Regions from separate parts of the Homo sapiens genome. Here all the other regions are linked to region 3. Evidence: promoter capture Hi-C in 16 types of primary human blood cells and fetal thymus (Javierre and others, 2016). All regions are on one chromosome and are shown on one strand. The core of a region is centred on a gene start or on the middle of the fragment in contact, and the rest is flanking DNA. Distances in the headings are between cores, read along the strand shown. Region 1 holds the start of SPDYE4 (speedy/RINGO cell cycle regulator family member E4). Region 2 overlaps MYH10 (myosin heavy chain 10). Region 3 holds the start of NTN1 (netrin 1). Region 4 overlaps STX8 (syntaxin 8).

Evidence for each region. Contacts are between HindIII fragments. The CHiCAGO score rates a contact against its expected background, and 5 or more counts as called.
Region 1: a contact is called between a fragment that was not itself captured here and the fragment with the promoter of NTN1 in region 3, in 5 of 17 cell types (naive CD4 T cells, naive CD8 T cells, total CD4 T cells and 2 more). The highest score is 6.0, in naive CD4 T cells.
Region 2: a contact is called between a fragment that was not itself captured here and the fragment with the promoter of NTN1 in region 3, in 1 of 17 cell types (naive CD4 T cells). The highest score is 5.7, in naive CD4 T cells.
Region 4: a fragment that was not itself captured here is called in contact with the fragment with the promoter of NTN1 in region 3 in 1 of 17 cell types (endothelial precursors); the score reaches 6.4 in endothelial precursors.

Annotation. Positions count from the first base shown.
Region 1 is chr17:8,755,461-8,762,066 of GRCh38, forward strand. It overlaps SPDYE4 (speedy/RINGO cell cycle regulator family member E4), which reads right to left and starts at 3,086. Exons shown (of 7, transcript NM_001394956.1): 1 at 2,814-3,086; 2 at 1,802-2,032; 3 at 918-976; 4 at 60-145. The coding sequence starts at 2,922. The HindIII fragment of the contact is 197 bases long and covers 1,414-1,610 here.
Region 2 is chr17:8,559,155-8,566,212 of GRCh38, forward strand. All of the region lies in intron 7 of MYH10 (myosin heavy chain 10), which reads right to left. It also overlaps the pseudogene PPIAP52 and the pseudogene RPS26P53. Among named protein-coding and RNA genes, the nearest start is that of MYH10, 68 kb to the right of the region's middle. The HindIII fragment of the contact is 1,029 bases long and covers 4,100-5,128 here.
Region 3 is chr17:9,016,906-9,024,589 of GRCh38, forward strand. NTN1 (netrin 1) reads left to right here and starts at 4,605. Exons shown (of 7, transcript NM_004822.3): 1 at 4,605-4,680; 2 at 5,406-6,486. The coding sequence starts at 5,469. RefSeq lists enhancers at 152-201, 4,003-4,546 and silencers at 3,967-4,016, 4,067-4,856. The HindIII fragment of the contact is 7,248 bases long and covers 2,166-7,684 here.
Region 4 is chr17:9,506,477-9,513,640 of GRCh38, forward strand. All of the region lies in intron 4 of STX8 (syntaxin 8), which reads right to left. Among named protein-coding and RNA genes, the nearest start is that of STX8, 66 kb to the right of the region's middle. RefSeq lists enhancers at 1-763, 764-1,631. The HindIII fragment of the contact is 1,391 bases long and covers 5,181-6,571 here.

The DNA of each region.
Region 1 (6,606 bases), core at 262-2,761, 260 kb before region 3:
CTTCGTCCACTGTCCCAGGGTGTTGGATATTGACAGATGGGAAGAAGCAAACTACTCACAGAGCCAGGAAGAAATGAATGCGTTGGTATTGCCACGAGAAGAGGCCGGCACGGCTAAAATACGCTATGACCATAGCCAGGAGATACTGATGGAGAGAAGGGAGTAGAGAGAGAGAAAGGTTGGTCACATCCTGGAAGAGGAAGATGGTGGAGAGAAGGGAACAGGGGCTGGGGCGCGGTTGTCTATCACAGAAGGAACCTCAGTGTTGGGTGACTATGCTCATTGGGGGCTTGCGGGTGGAGAGTGTTCAAAGTCAGCTGCAAATCCGGGAAGTCGGAGGGAGGGAGGTCTGTGATGCTCCCATGATGATGAGCTCCAGTGGGATCACTGGAGGGAGAGTGTCTAGGGCTGCTAATGTCAGGAGGGTCTTGGTGAGCTGGGGCAAAGGACTGTCCCAAAGATCTGAGAGGATAGGGGTCAGGAGTTTCAAGACTGGCCCAGGGCCTGGATTCCAAAGGACCCTGTGCAGAGGCAGGGGCCACCCATCAACTATGCAACAGGCTACCAGAGCCCCGAGGGAGATGCTGACAAATTATGAGAAGACCTAGAATAGCTGGGGGCGGTGACTCACGCCTGGAGTCCCAGCTATTGGAGAGGCCGAGGCGGGAGGATCACTTGAGCCCAGGAGGCTGAGGCTGCAGTGAGCTATGATGGCAACACTGCATTCCAGCCTGGGCAACAGAACGAGACCCTGTTTCTGAAAAAATAAAAATCAAAATGTGGGCGCCCAAGAGTATGGAATCAGCAGGTGGGAGATGGTAGAGGGAGAGAGGAGAGAAACTGTGGGTTTAGACGCTGCACCCTTCCCCAGGACGTGTGTTAAAGCAGGAACACAGTTGAGTGGAGAACAACCTTACCTTGTCTGACACCCTCAGGTCTTTGTCCCAGGCCAGGAATTTTTGAACGACAGGATCCCCTGTGAAAAGAGAGCCTGTGTCAGGGTGAGAAGTGGAACAGGGTTGCCGTGGGAGCAGCAGAGCAGAGAGGAGAACTGTGTCCCTCTGGGGGAAGTCTCAGGATTGTGGCCAAGGCTTAGGTGGATGGGAGAGGAGAGAAGGACTTTCACTGGGCAAGGAGGGAGGCTCCCGCTCTGAGATTCCCCTGAGGAGAGGCCGAAGGAGGCCTCTGGTGTCAGAGTCTACAGGATGAAGAGCTGTGAATAAGCCATGATGTCCTCCCATCAGACAGGAAGGGACCACTGCAGAAGTCATAATAGAATTCCCATCATTGCTTCCTGAGATAGTCACAGCTGGGTGTGCCCATGGCCTTGTTATCCCCCTCCACGGATGGAGACACTTAGGTTTAGAAAAGTCATCAAGAGACATAGAGTTTCAGAGGGTACAGCTGAAACCAAGCTTTCTTTTATCTTTTATTTTATTTTATTTTATTTATTTTATGACAGGGTCTTTCCTTGTCAACCAGGCTGGAGTGCAGTGGTGCAATCATAGCTCATTGCAACTTCAAACTCCTGAGTTCAAGAGATCCTCCCGCCTCAGCCTCCCAAAGCACCAAGATCTCAGGCATGAGCCACTGCACCTGGCCAGAAACCAAGCTTTCTTATTTCAAGTGCAGACCTTTATTAAGACTAGCCTAATCCTCTATCTCCTAAGCATCCTCCTCCTGCATGGAGCGCTCATCCCCCAGGAGGGCATATTCTTCTTATTGGGAAAGTGTGATTATTGAAAGATTCCACTTTTTTAAAAGAACAGGGTTGGAGGTGCTTTTTGGGGTATCCTCCTACCAAGGAGCCTGTTGAAGGCCTCGTGGTGCTCAGGGAGCACGGAGGATGCTCGCTTTCGCTTCAGCTTCATCTTGAGCCCACACAGCGTCTCCACCACCCAGGTGTCCTCGGGCTCAGGGGCGCGCTCCAACTCCAGCTCCTCCTCCAGCTCCTCCTCGGATTCGTCTGACCATTCGCTCTTCCTTTTCAGGCCAAGGGATTGAGGCTGGGGGCTGGGATCTATCCAAGGGGCTGAGTGAAGAAACCAGGCCATGGTGTCATGTTTCTGCCATTGATCACCTTAGACGCCCCGACCCAGGAACCTCAAACTACTCTTCCATCCTCCCAAGCCTCGCAGACTGTCAGCTTCTCCAAGCCATGTTTCCACCTTTCTCCTTTGCTGATCCCCATCTGCCTCTCCCTCACCTCCCCATTCTTCCGGCTCTCTGTCCTCAAAACATTTCCTCATCACAGATAAGAACTTTCAATTGGAGAAAAATGGAAACCTTCCCTTGAGCTCTGTCTGCTCTCTCTCTCTCTCTCTCTTTTTTTTTTTTTTGAGATGGAGTCTCCCTCTTGTTGCCCAGACCGGAGTGCAGTGGCACAATCTTGGTTCACTGCAACCTCCGCCTCCTGGGTTCAAATGATTCTCCTGCCTCAGCCTCTTGAGTAGCTGGGACTACAGGCACGCACCACCATGCCCAACTCACTTTTGTATTTTTGGTAGAGACAGGGTTTCATCGTGTTAACCAGGATGGTCTCGATCTTCTGACCTCGTGATCCGTCCGCCTCGGCCTTCCTCTCTCATCTTTTGAGCACATCTCCTGACCCCCTTCATTGCTCCCCAGACTTTCTTTACACGTGGCCATGCTTGGCCCCATTCCCTGCACCCTCCTTCCCCGATCCCTGGCTTCCTGAGTCCGTCGTTTCTTTCCCACACACCCTACTCAGGTGCTTCAGATTCCCAGTAACTGGCCCCCTTCCCTCTCCTCAGTCAATCATCTCCCATCGCTTCTCCCTCCAGTCACCTCACCTGATGGTCCTGGCACTTCATCATCCACCACCACCTCGGGGGACCGTACCGTTGTGCTAGGCTGGGGGCTCTCCTCCTCAAACGGGGGGCGCGCTTGACCACTGGCCATAATCTCTCCCAAACACTTTGTTTCTGTCCACAAAACCTAGTCCCTGTTCTGTCCAAAGCCTTCTTCCAGACTCCGTTAGGACCCAGAAGAGTGCGTTTCTCTTCTAGAGGCTCGGGAGAAGTTAGGAGTGAAGAGTAGTTCTGAGAAGTTGCTGTTGTCCACCTGAACTCCCAAGCAACCAGAGTCCGGTCCTTCCAATCAGGAAAGTCGGAATCTCTGATGTCATCGGTCATTCCAAACTGGCAACTACTTTGAAGAAAAACACATGTAACTGCCAGACTGATCTCTTTTCTTGGAGATCCGGGGTGAACGGTATCTCCTGGCAATGTCCCAACCTCTGAGCATTGTCCAAAAGCATCCTCAGGGTCTCCACATTCCTCTTTTCCCTGTCCCAGCAGAGGCTGTGTCCTCTCCACTCTAAACTTGAGGGGGTGTTGGGCTCTCCTCCCCGCTTCTCCTTCCCATTTCAGAGTCTAGTCTGGTGAGAGAGGGAGGAAGGTGGAAGGAAATTTAGGGTAAGCAGAATGATGAGTCCTTCCAAGAGTGAGATTAACATATACAGGAGATCCTGGGTAAATTGACTTGTTGAATGGAGACGTTACGTCGAAGTACTCAATGTGGCAAAGCTTTTTTGCTGAATGTTTACTGATATTCACTATCCTGGATCCTATAGTAGGGGAACATGCATCCTTTGCTCTCAGGCATCTTTGAGTCCAAGAGACATTTTGAGGAATGAAAATCACAGGAGACTGTCCATGGTTTCGTACAGATTTTCAATGGTGTCCACAAGTTCAGGGCATCCATGGATCACCTAAAGCCTGCCCTCCAGTTCAGCTAAGGAACTCTGGTCTATATATCAACTATTACAACATATCTATTTCACTTGACCCCAAAATTTGCCTACTATTTATGTATTTTATGAATAAAATATCCTGTGTATAAAAAGACTAAGGGGAAAATCTCAGCCAGGCCCAGGGGCTCCTGCTCATAATCTCCCTCCTTTGGGAGGCCAAGGCAGGGCGTCACTTGAGGTTAGGAGTTCAAGATTAGTCTGGGCAACATAGCAAAACGTCATCTCTACAAAATATAAACAAAGTAATCAGGAATCGTGGCACACACCTGTGGTCCCAGTACTTGGGAGGCTGAGGCAGGAGGATTGCTTCAGCCCAAGTGTTTGAGGCTGCAGTGAGCTATGATTGCACCACTGCACACCAGCCTGGAGGACAGAGTGAGACTCAGTCTCAAAAATATTTTTTTCGGAAAAAATAAAAATGTAAGAGCTGGATACTATCTCAGATACCATCCAAAGAACCTGTGAGTTCTGGCACAGCTTCCTAATGGGCTCCTAGGAGTCTCTCGCTGATGGGAAAGGCACAACTGAATGAGGAGGCAGATCCCGTCGCTGTGGAAGTCCAATTGTTAGGAAACTCTGCTTACATTGAGTGGACCTTCGCATTCACGATGCTTTCAACCATCAGAACTGGTTGGATCCTTTTACAACAAAACAGAAAATCATCTTTCTCTCCTATTTAATAGGCTTTCAAACATTAGAAGATCAATATTCTGTTGCCATTAAAATTTCTCTTCTGTACCACGTAAAGTTCTGATTAATCACTCTTCAAGCCAGTTTTACATATTCCTCTGTCTTCTAGGCACCTTCTGTAGACAGGCTACAATAAGGCAGCCATCTTAAATTATGTCAATACATTGTCCAAAAATGAGCTAAACAGTTCAGGTTTCATCTGATATGTTCAGGGAAAAGCAAAACTATCACTTCTCCCCTTCTCTTTTCCTTCAGTGATGCAGGTTAATACAACAATGGCTGTAGCTATGCACCAAAGATATCATTAGAGTGAAACAGAAGGGCTTTATTGGCTGGCATGGTGGCTCCTGCCTGTCATCCCTACACTTTGGGAGGCCAAGGCTGGAGAATCACTTGAACCCAGGAGTTGGAGATGAGTCTGAGTAACGTTGTGAGACTCCGTCTCTCCAAAAAAATTTAAAATTAGCCTGGTGTGGTGGCACACACCTGTAGTCCCAGCTAGTTCGGAGGCTGAGTTTGGAGGAGAAGAAGTGCTTTGCAAATACCAGCCTTTCAGCCTAAGGATCTCAACTAGGAACATTAAGATACAGATGCCAGGACCCAGCCCCACAGATTCTAATTCCAAAGGACTGAGGTGGGGGCTGATTTAACTTCATCATTGGAGTCCATTCAGATTTGGAACTCTCTGGGTGGGGCAGCGCAATAGAGATCCCAAAGAAAGCAAAATCACTCTCGAATGAAATGAGCAGGAAAGATTTTTTGAGCGAGGTAAGTAAGACCTGGGCCTCACATGGGAGGGCTGTCACCAGGCTTTGTATCCTTGGCTTAGTGGGAACTTTTGAAGCAGCCTCCAAGGCCCCTGTATGCTGGTCGACAAGCCCCCTAACATTGGCTCACAACTGTAATTCCAGCACTTTGGGAGGCCAAGGCAGGAGGATTGCTTGAGCGCAGCAGTGCAAGACCAGCCTGGGCAACTTGGCGAAACCCTGTCTCCACCAAAGTATAAAAAACTAGCCTGGGTGTGGTGGCGCATGCCTGTACTGCCAGCTACTCAGGAGGTTGAAGTGGGAGGATCATTTGAGCCTGGGAGGCGAAGGCTGCAGTGAGGCGAGTTAACGCCACTGCACTCAAGCCTGGGTGACAGAGTGAGACTGCATCTCAATTAAAAGAAGAAACACTAAAAATTTTCACTGAGAATATAAAAGAACTGAATAGAGACTTACAAAATGTCTAAATGATGTTTCAATATGGTAAAACTGTACATTCAATCCAAATGAATTTAGGAATTTAATGCGATTGCAATCAGAATCTCAAAGAGTTTTTCCCCCCGCAGATGTTGACAGAACAATGTAAAAGTTTATCTAGAGAATTGAGTACTTAAGGAACCATCACAAAAGAAGAATGAGAGGGAATGTCCACTGCCAGACACCAAAATGTGTTCTAAGGTGAAAGTGTTAAAACAGCATGTTGCTAGTGTCACTCCGGCAAAATCCTCAAGTGCTCTAAGAGCTTGGGCAAGTATCTTGCTCTAAGATAGCCCTGACTTTGTGAGCTGCCTAAAGGCATGAAAATCCACAATTTTCAAAGACACTTCTGACCAAAACCAAAACAAGACCAAACACAAATCTGGATCTGGAGGCCTGAAACGGGTTACAGGGTCCCAGTTTATGATCCTTGATACAATCAAGAGAATAGAAAGTTCAGAATAAACCCAAGTTTCTATAGGAATGCATTAAATGCTGTCATGGCATATCCCAGTGGGGAAAGTAGAGATTAAGCCACAAATCATGCGATCACAACTAGCTCATTATTTGGAAAACAGACATATACAAATCAAATTCCAGGTGGATTTATTTAAATGGGAAATTAAATGTTCAATGTGAAAATTCATTCTGTAGCAGGATATCCAATGGAAAGGATACTTTTCTGTTTTTTGCCACTGGTGAGAGAGCTGCCAGAACACAGCCTTCATCCTCAGAAGTCACAAGGCTCACACATCATATCTGAGCCTCTGAAGACTTTACCAGTCTAATTCACAAGTTTAAATTCCAACCCAAAATGTAGAGTCTTCATTTCCCTGCTCCTCAGTGCTGTGAACTGAATCTGTGCCCCCAAAATTCATATGTTGAAACCCTATATTA
Region 2 (7,058 bases), core at 3,364-5,863, 460 kb before region 3:
GACTCTCTTTATATAATTGATTTCATCATCATCTTTACAGTCTACCATGCTATCTGTCTCTTTGTATTCATCTTCCGGTTCATCCAATGTTTGTGAAATGTTTTTCTGTCAATTTCCTTCTCACTGACATAATGACTAGAAATTGAAAACTTCTGATTTTTCAACTATGTTCACTAAAAGCTAAAAATAACCTACAAAGATGGTTTCTCTAGTTTTCTTTCATACCTACTTGAAAGACAATGCAATATTTGGGGTGATATAATAAATAAATTAAAAGATGAAGCAATAGTTATTACTGTAGCATCCTTCTAGGCAATCCCATTATTCTTATTATTTTATTCTTTTTTTTAGCATAGTTGAGAATAAATGAGTTAATAATGAATCAATTTCTAAGATGACAAAACAGCAAACTATTTCAAGACACAGAAACAAATAAGATCACTAATACTCCATAATGTATCTTAGATTTACAAAATGCTTCAATGGACCCATATGTAATTACAAGAGAGAATGAACTTCATTCTATTTTAAAAATAAGTATATTTTGTCTTTGTTTTTTGGAAGACCCCTAAGAAAGATTTAAGTTAAAAAGCTATCAATCCTATGAATAGTTAGAACTGTTCAAAAAAGAAACTGAAATTGGGTCCTGATGTTATACTGATGGTTAAAATTCTCCACAAATAATTTTAAACAGCTGTATTATCTATACACTACCTCATTGAGTTAATAAAAATATTGCTATTTTAAGAGACAGTAGTCAAAAGGCAATGTTATTACCACAGAGCTGCTAAGGACACACGGCCAACGTGACTGCCTGGGCAAATGCGTTCTCAAACTTCTCATTTTAATTCTGCGGAAAGGTTCATCAAAATCATATGGTATCACCTAGTTCTTATTTTAAGAAAACATTTCACTAAAAAAAAATTCTTTATATCCAGTAATATAAACTTTTAGCTTTCACCAACATGTATGTTTAACTTCTTTATTAAGTATATATATATCAACATGCGGTTTAAGCTTTCAACTCCGAATACTATTTCCTTTTTTTTTCTTTACCACCTCAAATAAATTAGAAGTTTGAAATTCATCAAACAAAACTAATTCTTTATTTGGGCAATATGATAACATTAATACACAGATAACTTTGAATTCTAGCAACTGTAAAATCTAAACTTAAATGTTATTTACCGTATATTTAGTGAATTTATTTTTCCCTACCTTCACGGGACATTAAAATAGGAAAGGAAGTTAGGTTCAAAGGAGAAATGGGGCTTTGTAGTCATCGCTGCCACCTGAAGCCACCTGCCTCTAGCCATGGTCAACGCCACTGTGTTCTTTTGACATCATTGTTGATGGTAACTCCTTTGGCCCATGCAGCTCCTTCGAGCTGTTTGCCGACAAAGTTCCAAAAACAGTGGAAAACTTTCGTGCACTGAGCACTGGAGGAAAAGGATTTGGTTATAAGGGTTCCTGCTTTCACAGAATTATTCCAGGGTTTATTTTATCTGCCAGAGTGCTGACTTCACACACCATAATAATGCCAGTCCATCTACCAGGAGAAATTTGATGATGAGAACTTCATCCTGAAGCACACAGGTCCTGGCATCTTGTCCATGGCAAATGCTGGCCCGACACAAATGGTTCCCAGTTTTTCACCTGTGTGGCCAAGACTGAGTGGCTGGATGGCAAGCACAAGGTCTTTGGCAAAGTGAGAAGAGGGAGTGAATATCATGGAAGCCATGGAGTGCTCTGGGTCCGGGAATGGTGAGACTGGCAAGAAGATCACCACTGCCAACTGCGGACAACTCTAATCAATCTGCTTGTGTTTGATCTTAACCACCAAATCATTCTTTCTGTAGCTCAGGAGAGCATCCCTCCATCCCACTTGCTCACAATATCCTGTAATCTTTGTGGTCTCACTGCAGTTCTTTGGTTTCCTTATTCCCCTCGACATCAAGCTGGATTGTAGTTAAGTTTAGGATTATAAAATAAAAACTCAGTAACAAAAACAAACAAAGGAGAAATGGGAGAAAATTAAGATTTGGGGCCTCTCCTCTCCGGTCCGTGCCTCCAAGATGACAAAGAAAAGAAGGAACAAAGGTCGTGCTGAAAAGGGCCGCGGCCACGTGCAGGCTATTCGCTGCACTAACTGTGCCCGATGCATGCCCAAGGACAAGGCCATTAAGAAATTCGTCATTCGAAACACAGTGGAGGCCGCAGCAGTCAGGGGCATTCTGAAGCAAGTGTCTTCGATGCCTATGTGCTTCCCAAGCTGTGTGTGAAGCTACATTACCGTGTGAGTTGTGCAATTCACAGCAAAGTAGTCAGGAATCGATCTCGTGAAGCCCGCAAGGACCGAACACCCCCACCCCGATTTAGACCTGCGGGTGCTGCCCCATGTCTCCCACCAAAGCCCATGTAAGGAGCTGAGTTCTTAAAGACTGAAGACAGACTATTCTCTGGAGAAAAATAAAATGGAAATTGTACTTAAAAAAAAAAAAAAAAGATTTGGGGCCTCTGAACAGGTGAGCTGTAGAGAAATGTTCCAAAATAATTCAGACATGTGGTCACTTACTTAGATAAATAAGCAAAGTCACCAACATGCAACACTCTATTCCTCATCAGTTCCCTAGCTTGGTGTCCTTTTCACACCTAGGGTCCATAGTGGCACTAGCCATGATAGTGAGTGCCAGTGAAATATCTTTCGGCTAGATGCAAAGGGCCAAGCAAAGAGCAGTGAAAGAAGAGATGCATGGAGAACAATGATGAAGGAGACAGGGCTGCAGGGGCCTGTGGTGTGGAAGGAGGCAAAAGAGAACGGTATTTCTGAAAATATATTTGGTAACCAATAAATCTCAGTTATAAGCCAAAGCACTAACATGTATTCTATTTTAAAAACACTTTAACAAAACAAAAACCTTATGAAGTTGAAAATTATCAACTTTCTAGCTAAATGACACTCATACTCAGATATTTTACAAGACATAGCCAAGCACTTTGACAACCTGACAAAGTGAAATTTCAGAAGCAAAAATGAAAAACTTTACTGAATATCCCCAAGTGATCTAGGACTTAGATTATTCCCCTTCATGTTGGATACGCTGGCAAATCAGGTAAGATGCAGGCCATGGGACCTGACGTCACTTGAGTGTTGGCCACTTGGCCAGATAAGCAAAGGTGACTTTTCTTTCTTCCTTGGCGGCAGGCCGAGGGGAGAGAATATCTGTTAAAAGTTAAAAAAGCTTTCTCCTCACATCTATAATAAATACTTTCAGAATTAACATTTTTATTGAAACACACATCTAGACTAAATTGGAAAATACGAGTTTTACTTTTAAGTGGGAACGCTATCTTTAAACATTATGTGAAGAAATCTGTGCCGAAAATGCCCACTCCATAATTGATTTGCATAAAGGTCAGATTATGGTACTTAGAATATTCAATCGGAACTTCACCAGTAAAAACAAAAGCATGGAAAACCCCCAAAACGTGACAAGTACCTTGTGTATTAATTACAGCTACACATTTTGATAACGCTTATTGTATACCAATCCAGAAACAAGTGAAATTACACGTGTACTGTGAGAGCTCTCAACAGCAAAGACAACTAGAATTCTCTCATATATAATCAAATATAACTTGTTAAGGATTTCACTCAAAATGTGCAATAGGGAAACCCGGATATTTGATATTTTCATACCCTGAAGAAAATAAAATGAAAATTATCTTAATTAGTTTCAAAAATTTTGTTTGTTCTGAATTGACATCGATTTCTAGAATCTTTTCTGGGGTGATTATAATGTATCTATAGTAACTAAAACTAGATTAGTTATTAGTTAGCAACTTAATTTAGGGGCAATGCAGGTTTGTTTCATATTCTGAACATATTTTCCCCCTTCTTAATTTGGCATCTAAAGTTATTACATGATCTGCAGTATGCATTAAAACACATCAGCACAGATAGGGTGCTATGCATGTGTGTTAGCTATTTGCCCTAAATGAGAAAATCCATTCTAGGAGTAATGAGCTAGCACTTAATCCAAAGGCCAGATGGCCACCTTAAATGCTTTAGCTATCTTAATCTCCAAACCAAACCAGAAGCTTTGTTGTTAGTAAAATGAGTTTTCACATGCACTAAGTGGCCTCATTACTTAGTATAATGGATATTAGAAATCACTAGGGTAACATGAGTGGCATTAAGCCATGGACTGATTAGAAAGAGATATATATTAACTTCAAATAGAGCCTTAAAAAAAGATAAATACATAAATAAAAACAAAGAAAGATATATATAGACCCTCCCCAATCCGGGGTCAAGGGAACAAGTGTTGAGACTCCAGCAAGTCCAGGAGGCTGTATTGTTGGGGGTGCTCCTAGAGCTTGATACTAAATGGCTGTGTGCAGCCAGTGATCTGGAAGATGCTGGTTGCCTGGTGCAGACCATATTCTGTCACTGATACTGTCACATTTGCCTCAGTAAATCTTTCAGGTAAACGTTTGGTTAGAGAAATTAAACAGAGCTGGGCTGCATGCAACTTACAAAACTGTTTTCAGCAACTGCCTTTTGATAAATAGATATGAGGGTGCAGAATCCGGACGTGCTTTCATTATAACCTGGTCGCCAAACTGTAAGGAGGATGCCTAGAGCCCTTACCTAGCTTTAACTGCTGGAGGATACTTATCTACCAAGAGGTACATAATAGTTGGAAATTGCCAGCCTGGCTTAAGTCAACTTGGAAAAAAAAAAAAAAAAGAGAGAGAGAAAGAAAATAAAAGGAAAGAAAAGAAGGATTTGTGGAAATAGAGAAAGTGATTCTAACTAAAACTCTGTGAGGGAAGATGTACCTGCTGATCCAAACAATCATTTTGAAATTGAAGTCCCTGTTTTTAAAGTTTCATTATGAGAGATTCTTTTTACATAAATCTCCTCCATCTGGAACGCATTTTACTTCTCCATAAACAGAGAACTGGACTAACTGTGAACGATTATTTTCTTAAGGGTAATGCTCTCCTAAATAAAGAATCCCTTTAATATAAACCATATGCTAGTATCTTTGAAAGAAAAGATATTCTTCAGGAAATTAGTCGTCTATATCAGATCAAAGAAATGGAACCAAATGGATTCTAAAGCTTATGGAGTTTATAGCCTCAAATATTTTCACTGTAAGCATGTAGCTTATAAATATGACTGCATGAAATTTCACTGTATACACAACTCATTTTTTAACATCGTACTACTCTTGGTATGACATTGATCTCAACCCAAGGCCTGGCCTGCCCACGGAGCAACTGCCTCCCTCATGTTCTCTACCCTTGCTTCTAAAATGGGGGCATGCATATTCTCAGAGGATCTAGCATATGCACTACCTTCCCCGAGCTCAACAACATCATGACATGCCGTTGAAAACATATTAAAGTTAACACCAATATGAAGGTGTGCTCTACAGGGCTAGGGAACCTTAGTTTTGACCACTGGTATATTCCCAGGGCCTGGAAGAGTGTATGGCACTTTGTAGTGTCTGCCACATTTTCAGTAAATGAATTCCATAAAATCCATAAATATACCTGTGGGGCACTATGCTAGGAACCAAAGATACAAAGTCCCTACTGACAAAGATCTTAGACATTCTACTAGGAAAGATAATAAATACACAAAGTAATTAGTTACAGCTTGTGATAGGTGCCATGAGGGAAATAAACAGGATACTGTGATAGAGAATAATAGAAGAAATATCCTCAGATATGGTTTTAGACTAACTAGCTAGTTAGGAGAAGAAATGTGGACAGATCTGAAACACCTTCTAGATGTTTAACCAACAGGATTCACTGTTGGCCTGGACGTGGGCCATGAGAAAAAGGCTGATTCCTAGGTATTTTGTCTTTCTAGGTTTTGCTATTGCTTTTATTTTAAGTTTAACCAACTGGGTGATTTCATAATACCATCTATTGATGTAAGACATAAAGGAACAAATTTTGAAAGGAAAGGAAAAACTTTCATTTGGAATATGTTAAACTTCAAGAATCTATTGACATCCATTTGGAGATATCAATTAAGCTGCACAGTGGCTGGCAAATAATAGGTGCTTAATAATTAAAAGAACTAAATAACAAATCAAACATCAAAATTACACAGAATTGAATTTAAAAATGAGTCTACAACAGTTTCTTTCAAACCCCAAGAACCAACACCAATAGATAAATATTAAAGGGGAATTTTAACTGAACATTATTTAATCAATGGACCTAATTATTTTTAATGGAGCTACTGAGATCAACTACTTGTTTTAGTACTGTGTAGGTAACACCTTATGATAACAGTAGATAGCAATAAACTATTACTAAAAAAAATACGTATCAATAAAAGTTGACTTTCTAAGAATTAAAGCCCAAAGTAAACAATTTAAAGATATCTCTGTTTCTTGGTCGAATTGAAAGCTACGTCTAAGAACAATGCCCTAATAAAAAATCTTTTTTCTACTAAAAACAAATCAGCTTTTACTATATTAGAATGCACTTATTATATAGTAGTGCAGGCACTTTGGAAGGTGGCACTTCAGCTGAAATAGCATTTGTTGAACATTTGGATTCAATGGCTAATTCCTGCTTCTTTCCTGTGTGCTGCTTCCAGGTGGCTAGAAAACAATCTAATTCTTCCTACCAGCAGAATGTAAAATAGGTTTCTATCAGACTTGATTGTCAACCTTTGGAATAGGATGTATACATAACAAGCATTAAATAGACTCATGTATTACTTTGCAAATAAATTTCAGAAAATAATTACCTTAATTTAGACTATAATTTGAAGGAACGATCTAGAGCAGGGTTTCTCGATCTTAGCATAACTGGTATTTTGGGCTCAATAATTCTAAGCGGTGGGGACTGTGCCATGCATTGGATGGTATTTAGCAGCATCCTTGGCCTCTACCAACTAGATGCCAGTGGCACACCACTACCCAATCTCCCAGTTAAACAAAGAAAGATGTCTCCAGACACCGCCAACGTCCCTTGGGGAACCTCCAATTAAGAACCACTGACCTAGAGTCACTCCAGTTACAGGT
Region 3 (7,684 bases), core at 3,355-5,854:
ACAAACTTCAATAGGCCCTTTAATTCTGCCCAGCAAGCATTATCCTCTTCTCTCTAATGACCTCAAGCCTCCAGTGCTCCCAGCTCCTCCCCCATCCTCAGCAGATGGTGTCACTTCCTATTTCATTGAAACAAGAGACACTTGGAGACCACCTGACCACCAGTTTTACAAGCATAGTTTTATCTGTCTTCCACCTCTCTCCTCCTGCTGGCTCCAGTTCCTATCAACATTTAGGCATGGTCAAATAGCCTTATCTTACAAACAACAATAAAAAATCCCAACCTTCCCTCAATCCTATGTCACCTTCCTGCTGTGACCCTCTATCTTTCCTGCCACTTATATTCACACTTTCTTGAAAGTTGTCTACACCTGCTATTTCCACTTTCTCACCTCCCGTTCACTCCACAACCCCAGACAGCCTGGCTTCTGTCCCTACCACTCCCTGCAACCACTAGTCAAGGTCACCAATGACTTCCTTGTAGTTTGATCCAAAGGACTTGTTTCAGATCTTATCTTGACCTTTAAGGCATGTGACTCAACACTGCTCAGCACCCCTCCTTCCTTGCAACGCTCTTACCCATTGGTTTCTATAACACCCGAGTCCCCTGGTTTTCCTCCTCCTCCTCTGGCTACTTAAAAGTTTTCTTGAAACTGCCGCATTCTCCCCCTCCTAGGGTGATCCGTCTGGCTTCACAGGTAAGACAGTGTGCCAGGAACGGTGTTTCCGCCTCTCAACGCATTCCTTGCAGAAACACCTGGTGATTTGCTTTCTCACCCAAAATCTGCACTGTTGCGTTTTGAACTCCAGTTTGCTCTGTGGATCCCGCTGCTTAGAGCCTGACATGCCTTCACGGGTGTGTATTTATCACCGCCACTTTAAGAACTTCTCACGACACTTGGACATCTGTTTTTTTCATTTGTCCCCTCAACAGACAGGCTGCGTTAGGAAAGGACACTGATGAATTAGAAGGGATGGAAGAGGCTGCAGAGTGGTCAGAAAACAATGTCCTATGGGAAATCATTAAGATAACTGGGAACATTTTGCCCAGAAGAGATAAAACTGAGGGATGATAGAGGACTGGTTTCAAGAATCTGAAGAGGCAGAGAACCTTGATCTGGGCTGCTGTGTAGCGTAGGGTTTGGGCCACCTGCAGACTTAACAGAGAGGGGGGTTTGGAATGGACGTAGAGGAGTTCCACCGTATTACAGGAGGTTCTAGACCTCCTGGATACAAGGTGAGTAAGACAGTCCTGCTCACCAGGAACTACTAAAGATGATAAGCGTAGACCTAAGTGACCACAATAAAACTGGAAGGTGACCCCGCTCATCCTCTCCTGAAGACCCCTGGCCTAAGCTCAGCTGGCAATGTAGAAAAGCCACACTCTACCAAGAGCCATTTCAAACTTACTGCCATGCAAGGGCCATCAAAAGCTCTGTGGACATAGGCTGGGCGCGGTGGCTCACTCCTGTAATCCCAGCACTTTGGGAGGCCGAGGCGGGCAGATCACTTGAGGTCAGGAGTTTGAGACCAGTCTGGCCAACATGGTGAAACCCCGTCTCTACTAAAAATACAAAAAAATTAGCCAGGTGTGGTGGTGGGTACCTGTAATCCCAGCTACTTGGGAGGCTGAGGCAGGAGAATCGCTTGAACCCGGGAGGCAGAGGTTGAGAATGCGCCATTGCACTCCAGCCTGGGCAATAGGGCAAGACTCCATCTTAAAAAAAAAAAAAAAAAAAAAGGCTCTGTGGACAGAAACAACATTCAGGAGGAAGGCTTGGAAAGCACTTCTCAATCCAGTCTTGTAGATGCTCCAAAAGGTACCCCAGTCAGCTGAGCACCCCAATTTGCTTCTTTTCCATTCCTCTTTGCTGGAATGTCTTTTCCTGACTTGGGTTTTGATGCGATGCCATCAGCTTACATTCAGGGGGATCACAGAAACTGTCCAACCGAGCTCACTGTTGTGACTGTTTTGGGGATGTTGTCAGGGACGTTTGCTCATTACCCCATACTGTGTTCCCTTTCTGGGCCACGCCCCCACAAGAAATTCCTATCTGATTTTAGTACCAAGAATAGTTGTAATTCCCTTGAGCAGTAGGTCTGTTTTTATCTCATGGACACTGGGAATTGTGTAATGAACATGGTCTCCTCATTTTAGCTGCAGGAAAGCTTAGGGACAAATTTGTGGCCCACTCAGAAGAGGTGTAGAGGTTGGAACTCCAGGGTGCATTGGACCTGTATCCTCCTCTCGACTTTGTCTCCCTTCTTAGCTTTTCTTTGTTCTCTTACTTCATATTTTACTGTGCAAAACTGAGAGCATACAAGCAAAGATAAATAAAAATCACCTGTAATCTCATTATTCCGAGATAACCACTATTAACTGTGTTGTCTTTTTATGCATACTTTTTAAAAAATTAAAATGACATTATACTGTGTGTTTTTAATTTGCTTTTTTCATATTATAATATGTCATGAACATCTTTCCCTGTAATTAAGTGTTCTCTAAATGATTTAAAATTTCTGTATAGATCAAGCGACCTCATACTAACAGCTAACATTTCTATATGCATGTACTATGTGCCTGGTTTTATGCATATTTACATTTGCATACATGAGAAAGCCTATTTATATGTGTTACAGACCTGCAATATGTATGTCTATATCCCATCAGCTATAATATTCAAATGTGTCAACTCACGTGATGCTCACAACCCAGTGGGGTAGAAAGTATTATCTCCCTTGTACAGATGGAGGAAACCAAGGCATAGACTTTCCATAGTCACACAGCAGAGGCAGAATTTGAACCCAGGTACCCTGGCTCCGAAGCGTTTCCTCCTAAGAGCTATGCTGCCTTTCAGTATACCATTGCGATTTCACAGGTCACCATGGTTAACCATTTCATTTATTTCCTTTGACCTCACTTTTAATTTGTTATTGTGTCATATTTTATGTACCCTTGTAAGTTACCTGAAATCCTTTCTGCCACAAGGTGAGGTAAGGCATAAATAAACAGTGCAGAGTGTGGTAAACGGCACAAGAAGGCACAGCTAAATTGCTACCCCGGGGTAAGAAGATGAATCCAGGCTGTCCTGCAATGGAATGGATTTATTTTCTTGAGCTGTGGTGAGCTCCCATCCCTGGAAGAGCTGGCTTGGGTGGCCGTCTCTCTGGGAGGCTGGGGAAGGCCTTCTTCCAAGGAGACGGAGCTGGGCCAGACGAGCCCCGAGGCCCCTTCTTAGATTCTCAGGGTTTATGAAAATGCCAATAAGACAAACTGAGGCACTTAATGGAGCTAATGCAGCAAGGCAGCCCTTGGGCCGGAACCAGGACCTGGGGCTTTTCATCCGGGTCTATTACTGGACCACACATCTACAAGTAACAAATAAACGAGCAGAGATTCCGTTCCAAACTCTCGGCCCAGTGTATTCCTTTCCCAGAGCTCTCTGGCTGCTGTTGCAAGATGACCAAAGGATGCTGTCACTGTCCTCAGTCTTTTTATTGGGGCGATGGAGAATGAGGCAAGGAGGGGCTGGGTGGCCCCGCAGATGCCCCATGACACCATCATTCGGCAAGGTTATGCATTTGACGAATGCCCTGCAGTGGAAGGAGCCCAGGCTTCTCTTCCTGTTTTTGATGTTTACTTGGGGGTTGATCTTGTGCGAGTTTCTTCAGCTCCCGGGACCCTCAGTTTCCTCATCTGCAAAATGGAGTTAATACAACAGCAAAGCTGCTGTGGAGGTCCCATGAGCTATTACAGGGCTTTGCACCCTTAAAAATGCGGTTGAGGAAGTACCGATACGCCTGCCTCAGGGGATCTGGGGAGGGCTGGGCTGTCCCCATGCCTGAGACCAGGCAGGCCCGTCTTGGAGGGGCGGTGGCCAGCGTCCAGGTGCTGCCAGCTTCCTACCCCTTCAGCCTCCTGCCCACCACTGCTCCCTTGGCTAGAACGAAGCCGCGTTCCCGACAGACAGGCTCACGCACGGTGATATCCGTGGGAGTGCGGGCGAGCAGCCCCTCCTCGCCGGACCCCGGGGGCTTCGGGCAAAAATGGAGAGCAGGCAGAGGTCACATCCTCCTCCTCTTCCTCACGCTCCCGGGCTGCGTGCCCACAGGGGCACAGCCCTGTGCGCGGTGCCACCGGGGGCCATCAGGCTGGGTTAGAGGAAGGCCCGACCTCCGCGCAGCAAAGAAAACAAACACAGATGTGTTTGGCTGGGACCGGGAGGGAGAAAGTGGCCCCCTTCCCCCGCCCGCGCGCTCCCCCGGGCGTGAGGCTCTCCGGGCGGCGCGGGGCGCGGGCGAGGCTGACAGTCCCCGGCGGCCCCTCCTCCCCCACGGGGTGCGCGCCTGGCCCGGCCCAGCCCCCTCTCCGGGGTTTCCCCGGGTGCTCTCCTCGCTTTCTCTTTGTCTCTGCTGTTCTTTCTCGGGCTCCCGGGTTCCCACCCGCCTGTGCTCTCCCTCTCGGGCGTCCGGGCCGGTTCCCTTTAACTTTCTTCTTTCCCGGGGTGAAAACTTTGCTCGGAGCTGGCGGCAGCTCGCGGACGTTATTGGCCGGCGCCCCGCCCGGCGGCCCCGCCCCCCGCCCCCGCGCTCCCCTCCGCCCCTCACTCCCAGCGCGAGTGGCGGCGGCGGCGGAGCCTTCGGGGGCGAGCGCGCGTGTGTGTGAGTGCGCGCCGGCCAGCGTGAGTGTGTGTGCGCCCCGGGCGCGGGCAGGGCAGCACTCCGAGCTCGGCGGGAGCGGCGGGAGCCGGGCGGCCGCGTAGTCACTCGGGCGAGAGAGGCGGCGGCGGGGCCGGGACCGGGGCTGGGGCTGGGGCAGCGGCGGCCGCGCCGGGCATGGAGCTGGCAAGCCCGCGCTGAGGCGGGACGCGCCTGCTAGCAGCGAGCGAGAGGCTCTCCGGCGACCGGCGCGCGGGCTCCCCGGAGGGGCCAGGCAAACTTTTCTTTCTCTTTTGCCCCCTCCAGAGGTAAAGTCCCGAACGCGGACTTTCCGGCGGGGACGCGATCGGGGGGCATCTGAGAGGGACCCCGGGCTGCGAGACGAAGGGGCGCGGGCCGTGCAGAGTCGGGGTCCCCCAGCTCTCCTGCGCCCGAAACTTGGGGTGCGAGGGGGGCTGGTCGCGGACGGGGAGACCGGCTCAGGCATGCCCCTCGGGCGGCGTGGGGGCGGCGGTGGCGGGGAAGCAGAGCGTTCTCCCGCCGGGCGGGGAAGAAGGGGCGCGAGCGGTGCGGACTTGGAGGGCCCCGGCTTCGCCGCCCGCGGGACTTTGGGGGAGAGAGGCGGGCAGTCGGCTGCGGGGTGGGTGCCCAGGAAGCCGGGCGTTCTCCCGCATCTCCGCTCGCCACCCCGCCGAGAGCTGGAGGGCGCGGGGCGGGCTGGCTGAGCGCAGCTCCCTTCTCTCCGCAGGCGCCTTCTGCGGCAGGCGGACAGATCCTCGGCGCGGCAGGGCCGGGGCAAGCTGGACGCAGCATGATGCGCGCAGTGTGGGAGGCGCTGGCGGCGCTGGCGGCGGTGGCGTGCCTGGTGGGCGCGGTGCGCGGCGGGCCCGGGCTCAGCATGTTCGCGGGCCAGGCGGCGCAGCCCGATCCCTGCTCGGACGAGAACGGCCACCCGCGCCGCTGCATCCCGGACTTTGTCAATGCGGCCTTCGGCAAGGACGTGCGCGTGTCCAGCACCTGCGGCCGGCCCCCGGCGCGCTACTGCGTGGTGAGCGAGCGCGGCGAGGAGCGGCTGCGCTCGTGCCACCTCTGCAACGCGTCCGACCCCAAGAAGGCGCACCCGCCCGCCTTCCTCACCGACCTCAACAACCCGCACAACCTGACGTGCTGGCAGTCCGAGAACTACCTGCAGTTCCCGCACAACGTCACGCTCACACTGTCCCTCGGCAAGAAGTTCGAAGTGACCTACGTGAGCCTGCAGTTCTGCTCGCCGCGGCCCGAGTCCATGGCCATCTACAAGTCCATGGACTACGGGCGCACGTGGGTGCCCTTCCAGTTCTACTCCACGCAGTGCCGCAAGATGTACAACCGGCCGCACCGCGCGCCCATCACCAAGCAGAACGAGCAGGAGGCCGTGTGCACCGACTCGCACACCGACATGCGCCCGCTCTCGGGCGGCCTCATCGCCTTCAGCACGCTGGACGGGCGGCCCTCGGCGCACGACTTCGACAACTCGCCCGTGCTGCAGGACTGGGTCACGGCCACAGACATCCGCGTGGCCTTCAGCCGCCTGCACACGTTCGGCGACGAGAACGAGGACGACTCGGAGCTGGCGCGCGACTCGTACTTCTACGCGGTGTCCGACCTGCAGGTGGGCGGCCGGTGCAAGTGCAACGGCCACGCGGCCCGCTGCGTGCGCGACCGCGACGACAGCCTGGTGTGCGACTGCAGGCACAACACGGCCGGCCCGGAGTGCGACCGCTGCAAGCCCTTCCACTACGACCGGCCCTGGCAGCGCGCCACAGCCCGCGAAGCCAACGAGTGCGTGGGTGAGTGGGGTGCGGCGGCGGAGCCGGCGGCGGGTGGGGCCGCGGGCGGGAGCTGCTGGGCCTCGCAGCGGCGAGTTCATAGGAGCGCGGGTCGAGGGAACGGCGGGAGGCGCGTTCGCCGATGCCCGGGACCCGGGAGGGCTCAGAGCAGGTCCACTCGCTCGCGTGGCGCTCGTGGTGGACGCCCGAATTTGCGCCCAGTGCTCTCTGCGAAGCCAAGAAGCAGCAGGAGAAATGTTCCCGGGAGGGGGTTTGGCAGAACATTTGCAGATAGGTCTCCGCTAACCCTGGATCCAAACGCAAACATTCATTGCCTTCCCCCTCGTTGGGTTGGACGCTGGGATTCACCTGCACCCACCCCCCTTTCCCAAGGCTGCAGCTGGGCTCGCGGTTGGGGACCCCGGCCCAGTTCCTGGGAAGTTCCAACTCCACACCTACAAATCCCTTGGGAGATGGCAAAGAACTGTTTGTAGTTTGGGGTCAGTTCGGTACCCGACGAGTATCACTCCTGCCCTCCATTTGTCTTTTCATGATTTGAAACTATTTTTGTCTCTCTTTTGAACAGCGTGTTTGTGTTAGCAAAAGAAGAATGATGTGATTTCAATTAATTACTATCTGCTGATTACAACGGAGCGTTCAGTAATTATTTTAAACGAATTCAATTCTGGTCTAAAAAAGTATACCAGATTTTTTTTATTAGCTTCAGGCTTTGGTGAAATTAAACAGTTTTGAATTAACTAAGGGTCCAGCTTCTCACTTTTTAAATAGGGTTTCATTTCCTGAAAGAGAAATCTGACAAAACCGGGTGAATACGGCTGGGTCAGAAATGAAGCTAAAAAAGGATACGTTCTGCTTCTGAATTGGACGACTTTGCTGCTGCAGAAGCTCTCAGAAATCAGTTTCTCCCCATAAAAAGAAAAAAAGGGTGAGGGGAGGTAGCAAGACTACACCTTACTTTTTCAGTATGGGAAGTAAAGCTCCAAAGCCCACATTTATTTGAGCGAAAATTATTTAGTCTGTAAATGTCCCATTTGGTGTGCATCCTTTATGAACGTACAGATTTTTCCTCTCCATCTCCCCATCTCAAACAGCCAGTGTGAGGCTCTTCAATTGCTTTGCCCCTCTTAGGCACATTTCAAAGTTTGCTGGTCCCCACAAACACACGTTTTGAGGTCTGGTTCTGATTAATTGTGTCATG
Region 4 (7,164 bases), core at 4,626-7,125, 490 kb after region 3:
CAGTGTGGGAAAGTGCTGAACTGCAGTGGGGAAGTGGAGAGGCCCCTGTGGTGACTGAAAGTCTAGGAGGGCAGCATGAAGGCCCCCAGCCTCTGTGGCCCCATCTCTTCCACCAGGACTGAGGAGGCCTGGACATATGAAGGCCTTCTCCCTGTGAGGAAAAGGTAAGCGGGAGATTCCCACCTGCCCCCACTGCCACTGCAAACACCTACAGTCCTTATTACAGGAGGATCCCCCAGTCCTTGCAAGTTCTGAGCCCAGTTTGGAGAGCTGCTGGGAATTCGTACAGTTGCACTGCCCCAGATTAGGAGCATTCCCCACTCCCCACCCACTCCATGAGCCAAGTTACTACAGCATGGCGCCATCTTTAGACCACAGCTCCCTCTGGAGTGTGCCTTCCTCTTGGGGCCAGTAGCCACTGCACCTTTCCAGCACTGGGACTCCATTTTCATGCCACCAAAGCTACACAGGTGGCTGAACTCCACAACCCAGGGCTCGGGAATGGCTGTGACTCTGGTCCTGCAATGAAGGGAAACCACCCTCTGCACTTTCAGCCACAGAAACAGTCCCACCCAGGGCAAACCCACTCTTGAGCCAACCAAACTGCTGCATACCCTCCTGCAAGCAGAAGGCCCTGAGCAACTGACAGGCTAGCAGAGTGACTACGCTCCTGCATCCCGGATCTATGAAACAGTCGGGCAGTGCAGCCCCCTACAGACATGCCCCCGGCCTGCCCAAAGGCCCCACACCTCAATCAGGGCCTGAGAAACAACCCTGCAGGCTGCCCCTGGCAGACATACCCCCAGGCCAGCCAAGTAGCCATGTGTCCATATCTCAGGCCTGAAAAACAGCCCATGGGTCACCCCTAGCGGCAACTCCCCTAGGCCAGCCGAGCAGCCTTGTGTTCATATCCCGGGTCTGAGAAGCAACTCCTCAGGCCACTCCTGGCAGACATGCCCCCGGGGCCATCAAGCAGACTTATGCCCACCTCTCATGCCTGAGAAATAGCCCTGTAGGCTGTCCCCAGCAGGCATTCCCCACAGGAGAGCTGAGCAGCAGTGTGCCCATGTCCCAAACCTGAGAAACAGCCCAACAGGCCACCTCTGGCAGGCATACTCCCAGACTGGCCAAGCAACCAAGCAACTGTGCCCTCAGCCAGAGTAAGGGCACCAACCCCAACCCCAGCAAGTGAGACCCCAAGTTGGACAACCCACCATGTGAACGCATGCATCGCTGACCTGACAAATAGCCCGGTGAACACATCCCTGGCAAAGTCATGCCACCACCACCACAAAGCCTCTCAGCTGAGGCCACTGAGACACTCACAAATGTCACTGGCATGGATTACAGTTAAAGAAACTACACAAAAACTACACTACTATGCCCACCTGGAACCAAAGCCAATGCATCCCACTGAACCAACACCCCAAGATCCATTCATACAAATATTTCTTTCCCTGCAAAACCTACCACATAAAATTGGAAGAGGCAATTATTCCACCAGATGCATAGACATCAACATAGGGATACATCGAACATGAAAAAGCAAGGAAACATGACACCTCCAAAGGAATACAATAATTCCTGTGTAATAGACCCCAATGATAGAGAAATATACAAAATGACAGAAAAAGAATTCAAAATAGTAATCTTACAGTGAGATACAAGATAATAGAGCTAGACAATTTGATGAAATCAGGAAAACAATTCATGACTTGAACAAGAAATTCAACAAGAAGATAAATACCATAAAAAAGAACAAAACAGGTATCCTGGAGTGGAAGAATTCAATGAATAAGTAAATAAGTACAAGCTAGAGCTTTACCAAAAGACTAGACCAAGCAGAATTTTATTTATTTATTTTTTTGGAGACAGGTTCTTACTCTGTCACCCAGGCTGGAGTGCAGTGGCATTATCTCAGCTCACTGCAACCTCCACCTCCTGGGCTCAAGTGATTCTCCCTCCTCAGTCCTCCTGAGTAGCTGGGACTACAGGGGCATGCCATCACATCCAGCTAATTTTTGTATTTTTTGGTAGAGATGGGGTTTCACCATGTTAGCCAGGTTGGTATCGAACTCCTAATCTCAAGTGATCTGCCCGCCTTGGCCTCCCAAAGTGCCAGGATTACAGGTGTGAGCCACCATGCGTGGCTGAATTTTTGAACTTGAAGACAGATCTTGTGAAATAACACAGAAAGATGGGGGGAAGAAAAAGTAAAATGGAATGAAGAAAGCCTACAGAATTCATGGGACACTATTAAGTGAACAAATATTCACACTGTAGGTGTTCCAGAAAGAGAAAAGAAGGGCAAATGTACAGAAAACATTGAATGAAATAGTAGCTGAAAACTTCCCAAGTCTTGGGAGCTTCCAGATCCAGGAAGCTAAAAGAATCCCAAATAGATTCCATTCAAACAGGACCCCTCTTAGGCACATTAGAGTCAAATTATCAAAAGTCAAAGACAAAGAATTCTAAAAACAGCAAGAGAAGGACTGGATGTGGTGGCTCATGCCTGTTATCCCAGTACTTTGGGAGGCCGAGGCTGGCAGATCACGATGTCAGGAGTTCAAGACCAGCCTGGCCAACATGGTGAAACTCTGTCTCTACTAAAAATACAAAAAAATTAGCTGGGCATGGTGGCAGGTGCCTGTAATCCCAGCTACTCAGGAGGCAGAGGCAGGAGAATCACTTGAACCTGGGAGGCGGAGGTTGCAGTGAGCTGAGACCACGCTACTGCACTCCAGCCTGGGCAACAGAGCAAGACTCCATCTCAAAAACAAACAAACAACAATGACAAAAAGAAACCAGCAAGAGAAAAGCATCAAATCACCTATGAGGGAGTTCCCATTAGACTAATAGCAGATTTCTCAGCAGAAATCTTACCAACCAAGAGAGAATAGGATTTTATGTTCAAAGTACTAAAAGAAAAAAAAAATCTGCCAACCAAGAATATTACATGCAGCAAAGATATCCTCCAGAAATGAAAGAGAAATAAAATCTTTCACAGACAAGCAAAAACGAAGGTAATCCATCACCACTAGACCAGTCTTACAAGAAGTGCTCAAGGGAGTATTACATCTGGAAGTGAAAAGATCATAACAGCCATTATAAAAACATGTGACACTATAAAACTCACTGGTAGAGCCAATATACAAAGGAAAAAGAGAAAGAAATCAAGCCTTATCACTTCAGAACACTACCCAACCACAAAAATAAACAGTAAGAGGAAGTAAGGAACAAAGGATATAGAAAACAGCCAGAAAACAATAAAATGACAAGATAAGTCCTCACCTATTAATAATAACCTTGAATGTAAGTGAATTAAATATCTCATTAAAAGACATAGACTGGATAACTAGATTAAAAAAAAAAAAACAAGACTAGACTCAACTATATGCTGCATAGAAGAAACTCACCTGACCTACAGACACACATAGACTGAAAGCAAAGGTATGGAAAAAGATATTCTACGCAAACAAAAACCAAAAGCAAGCAGGAGTAGCTGTACTTATATCAGACAAAACAGACTTCAAGTCAAAAGTTGTGAAATTAGACAAAGAAGGACATTACATAATAATAAAGGGATCAATTCAACAAGAGAATGTAACAACTGTAAATATATACACATTCAATACCAGAGCACTCAGATATATAAAGCAAACATTATTAGCTCTAAAGGGAGAGATAGACTCAAATAGAGTAATAGCTGGAGATTCTAACATCTCACTCTCAGCATTGGACAGATCATTCAGACAGAAAATCAACAAAGAAACATCATATTTAAACTACACCACAGAACAAACAGACCTAACAGATATTTATGGAACATTTCACCCAACAGCTACAGAATATACATTCTTGTCAACAGCACATAGAACATGGACTGACCATATGTTAGGACACAAAACAAGTCTCAAAAATTTTTTTAGAAATTGAAATCATACCAAGTATCCTATTTAACCACAGTGGAAAATATCAATAACATGAGGAACATGCAAAATGATACAAACACATGGAAATTAAACAACATGCTCTTGAACAGCCAGTGAGTGAAGGACAAAATTAAGAATGGAATTTTAAAATTCCTTGAAGTAAATGAAAATAGAGGCACAACATACCGAAACCTATGGGACACAGCAAAAGTAGTACTATGAGGCAAGTGTATAACAATAAATGCCTACAATAAAAAACTAGAAAGATTTCAAATACCCTAACAATGTATCTCAAGGAAACTAGGAAAACAAGAATAAACCAAACCCAAAATTAGTAAAGGAAAGAAATAATAAAGATCAGAGGAGAAATAAATGAAATTGAAATAAAAAATGTATTTAAAAAATCAACAAAATAAAAGTTGGTTTTGTGTAAAGATAAAATTGAGATACCATTAGCTAGACTAAGAAAAAAAGAGAGATGACTCAAACAAATAAAATCAGGCAAGAAAAAGGAGACATGACAATGGATGCCACAGAAATACAAAGAATCATTACAGGATACTACAAACAACTCTACACCAATAAATTAAAAAACCTAGAGGAAATGGATAAATTCCTGGACACATACAACCTATCAAGATTGAACCAAGAAGAAATTTTTTTAAAACCTGAACAGACCAATAACAAGTAATGAGATTGAATCAATAATATAATCTGCCAACAAAGAAAAGTCCAGGACTGAATGGCTTTCATACTGAATTCTACCAAACCTTTAAAGAAAAATGCATACCAATTCTTCTCAAACTATTCCAAAAAATTGAAGTGAGGGTATTCTACCTAACTCATGCTAAGAGGCCAGAATAACCCTGATATCAAAAGCAGACAAGAATACAACAGAAAAAGAAAAGTTCAGGCCAATATCCCTGATAAATATACACACAAAAATCCTCAATACTAGCAAATGAAATCCAACAATACATCAAAAAGATAATATACCATGATCAAGTGGAATTTATCCAATGAATGCAGGAATGGTTCAACATACACAAATCAATAAATGTGATATATCACATCAACTATAAAGGACAAAACCCACATGATAATCTGAATAGATGCAGAAAAAAATTTGATAAAATTCAACATCTCAATTAAAAACTCTCAATAAACTAGGTATAGAAGGAAAGTACCTCAACACAATAAAGGCCATATATGACAAACCCACAGCTAACATCATACAGAAAAGGTGAAAGCTTTGCCTCTGAGAACTAGAAGACAAGGATGCCCACTCTCATCACTCTTACTCAACACAGTACTGGAAGTCTTAGCCATGGTAATCAGACAAGAGAAAGTAATAAATGGCATTAAAATTGGAAAGGAGAAAGTCAAATTGTTTCTGTTTGCAGAAAACATGATCTTATAGAGAGAAAAGCCTAAAGACTACCAAAAAAAAACCTCTCAGAACTGATAAACAAATTTAGTAAAGTTGCAGAATACAAAATCAACATACAAAAATCAGTAAGTGGTGTTTCTATAAATAATGAACTAGTTGAAAAAGAAATCAAGAAGACAATCTCATTTACAATAGCAATCCCCCCGCCAAAATTACCTAGGAATAAATTTAACCAAGGAGGTGAAAGATCTCTAAAAGAAAAACTACAAAACACTGATGAAAGAAATTGAAGAGGATACAGACAAAGGCAAAGTTATTTCATGCTCATGGATTGGAAGAATTAATATTGTTAAAATGACTATACTACCCAAAGCAATCTACAGATTCAATGCAATCTCTATCAAAATACCAATAACATTCTTCACAGCAATAGAAAAAAATCTTAAAAATCTGCATGGAACCACAAAAGACCCTGAAGAGACAAGCGATCCTAAGCAAAAAGAACAAAGCTGGAGGCATCACACTACCAGACTTCAAAATATACCACAAAGCTGTAGTAATGTACTACAATGCTGTTTTTATGATACTGACATAAAAACAAACACACAGACCAATGGAACAGAATAGAGAACCCAGAAATTAATCCATGTATCTAGAGCCAACTGATCTTTTTTTTTTTTTCCGAGGCAGAGTCTCACTCTATAACCCAGCTGGAGTGCAGTGATGCAATCTTGAGTCACTGCAACCTGTGCCTCCCAGGCTCAAGTGAGCCTCCCACCTCAGTCTCCTGAGTAGTTGGGATTACAGGCACACGCCACCACACTCAGATAATTTTTGTAGAGACGGGGTTTCACCATGTTGCCCAGGCTGGCCTCAAACTCCAATCTGCCCACCTCAGCCTCCCAAAATGCTGGGATCACAGATGTGAACCCAGCCAAGCCTACTCATTTTTAACAGAGGTGCCAAGAATACTCACTGGGGGAAGACAGTCTCTTCAATAAATGGTGTTGGGAAACTGAATATGCACATGCATAAGAATGAACCTGGACACCCATCTATCACCCTAAGGAAAAAATCAACTCAAAATGATTCAAAGACCTAAATGTAAAACCCAAAACCATAAAAGTACCAGGCAAAAACAAGGAAAACACTTCAGGATGTTGATCTGGGAAAAGATTTTATGAGTCAGACCTCACAAGCACAGGCAACAAAAGCAAAAAGAAACGAATGAGATTACAACAAACTAAAAAGCTTCTGCACAGCAAAGGAAACAGTCAATAGAGTGAAAAGACAATCTATAGGAGAAAATATTTGCAAACTGTTTATCCAACAGAGGATTAATATGCAAAATATGTAAGGAACTCAAAATATCTCAATGGCAAAAATCATAATAATAATTGGATGGAAAAATGGGCAAATGAGCTAGGCATGGTGGCATGCACCTATAGTCCCAGCTACTCAGGCTGAGGTGGGAGGATTACTTAAGCCTGGATAACATAGTGAGACTCTATTTCCAAAAAAAAAAAAAAAAAAAAAGATACACAAAATATGTGAAAGACAGACAAATGATCTGACCAGACATTTCTCAAAAAATGACACACAAATGCGCCAACAAATATATACAAATTGCTCAGCATTACTAATCGTCAGGGAACTGCAAATCCAAATCACAATGAGGTATCATCTCATTCCACTTAGAATGGCTATCATCAAAAACACAAAATAAATGCTTGTGAGGATGTTGTGAAACAGGAACTCTTATACACAGATGGTGGAAATGTAAACTAGTACAGCCACTATGGAGAGCAGTATGGGGGTTCCCCAAAAAACTATAACTAGAGC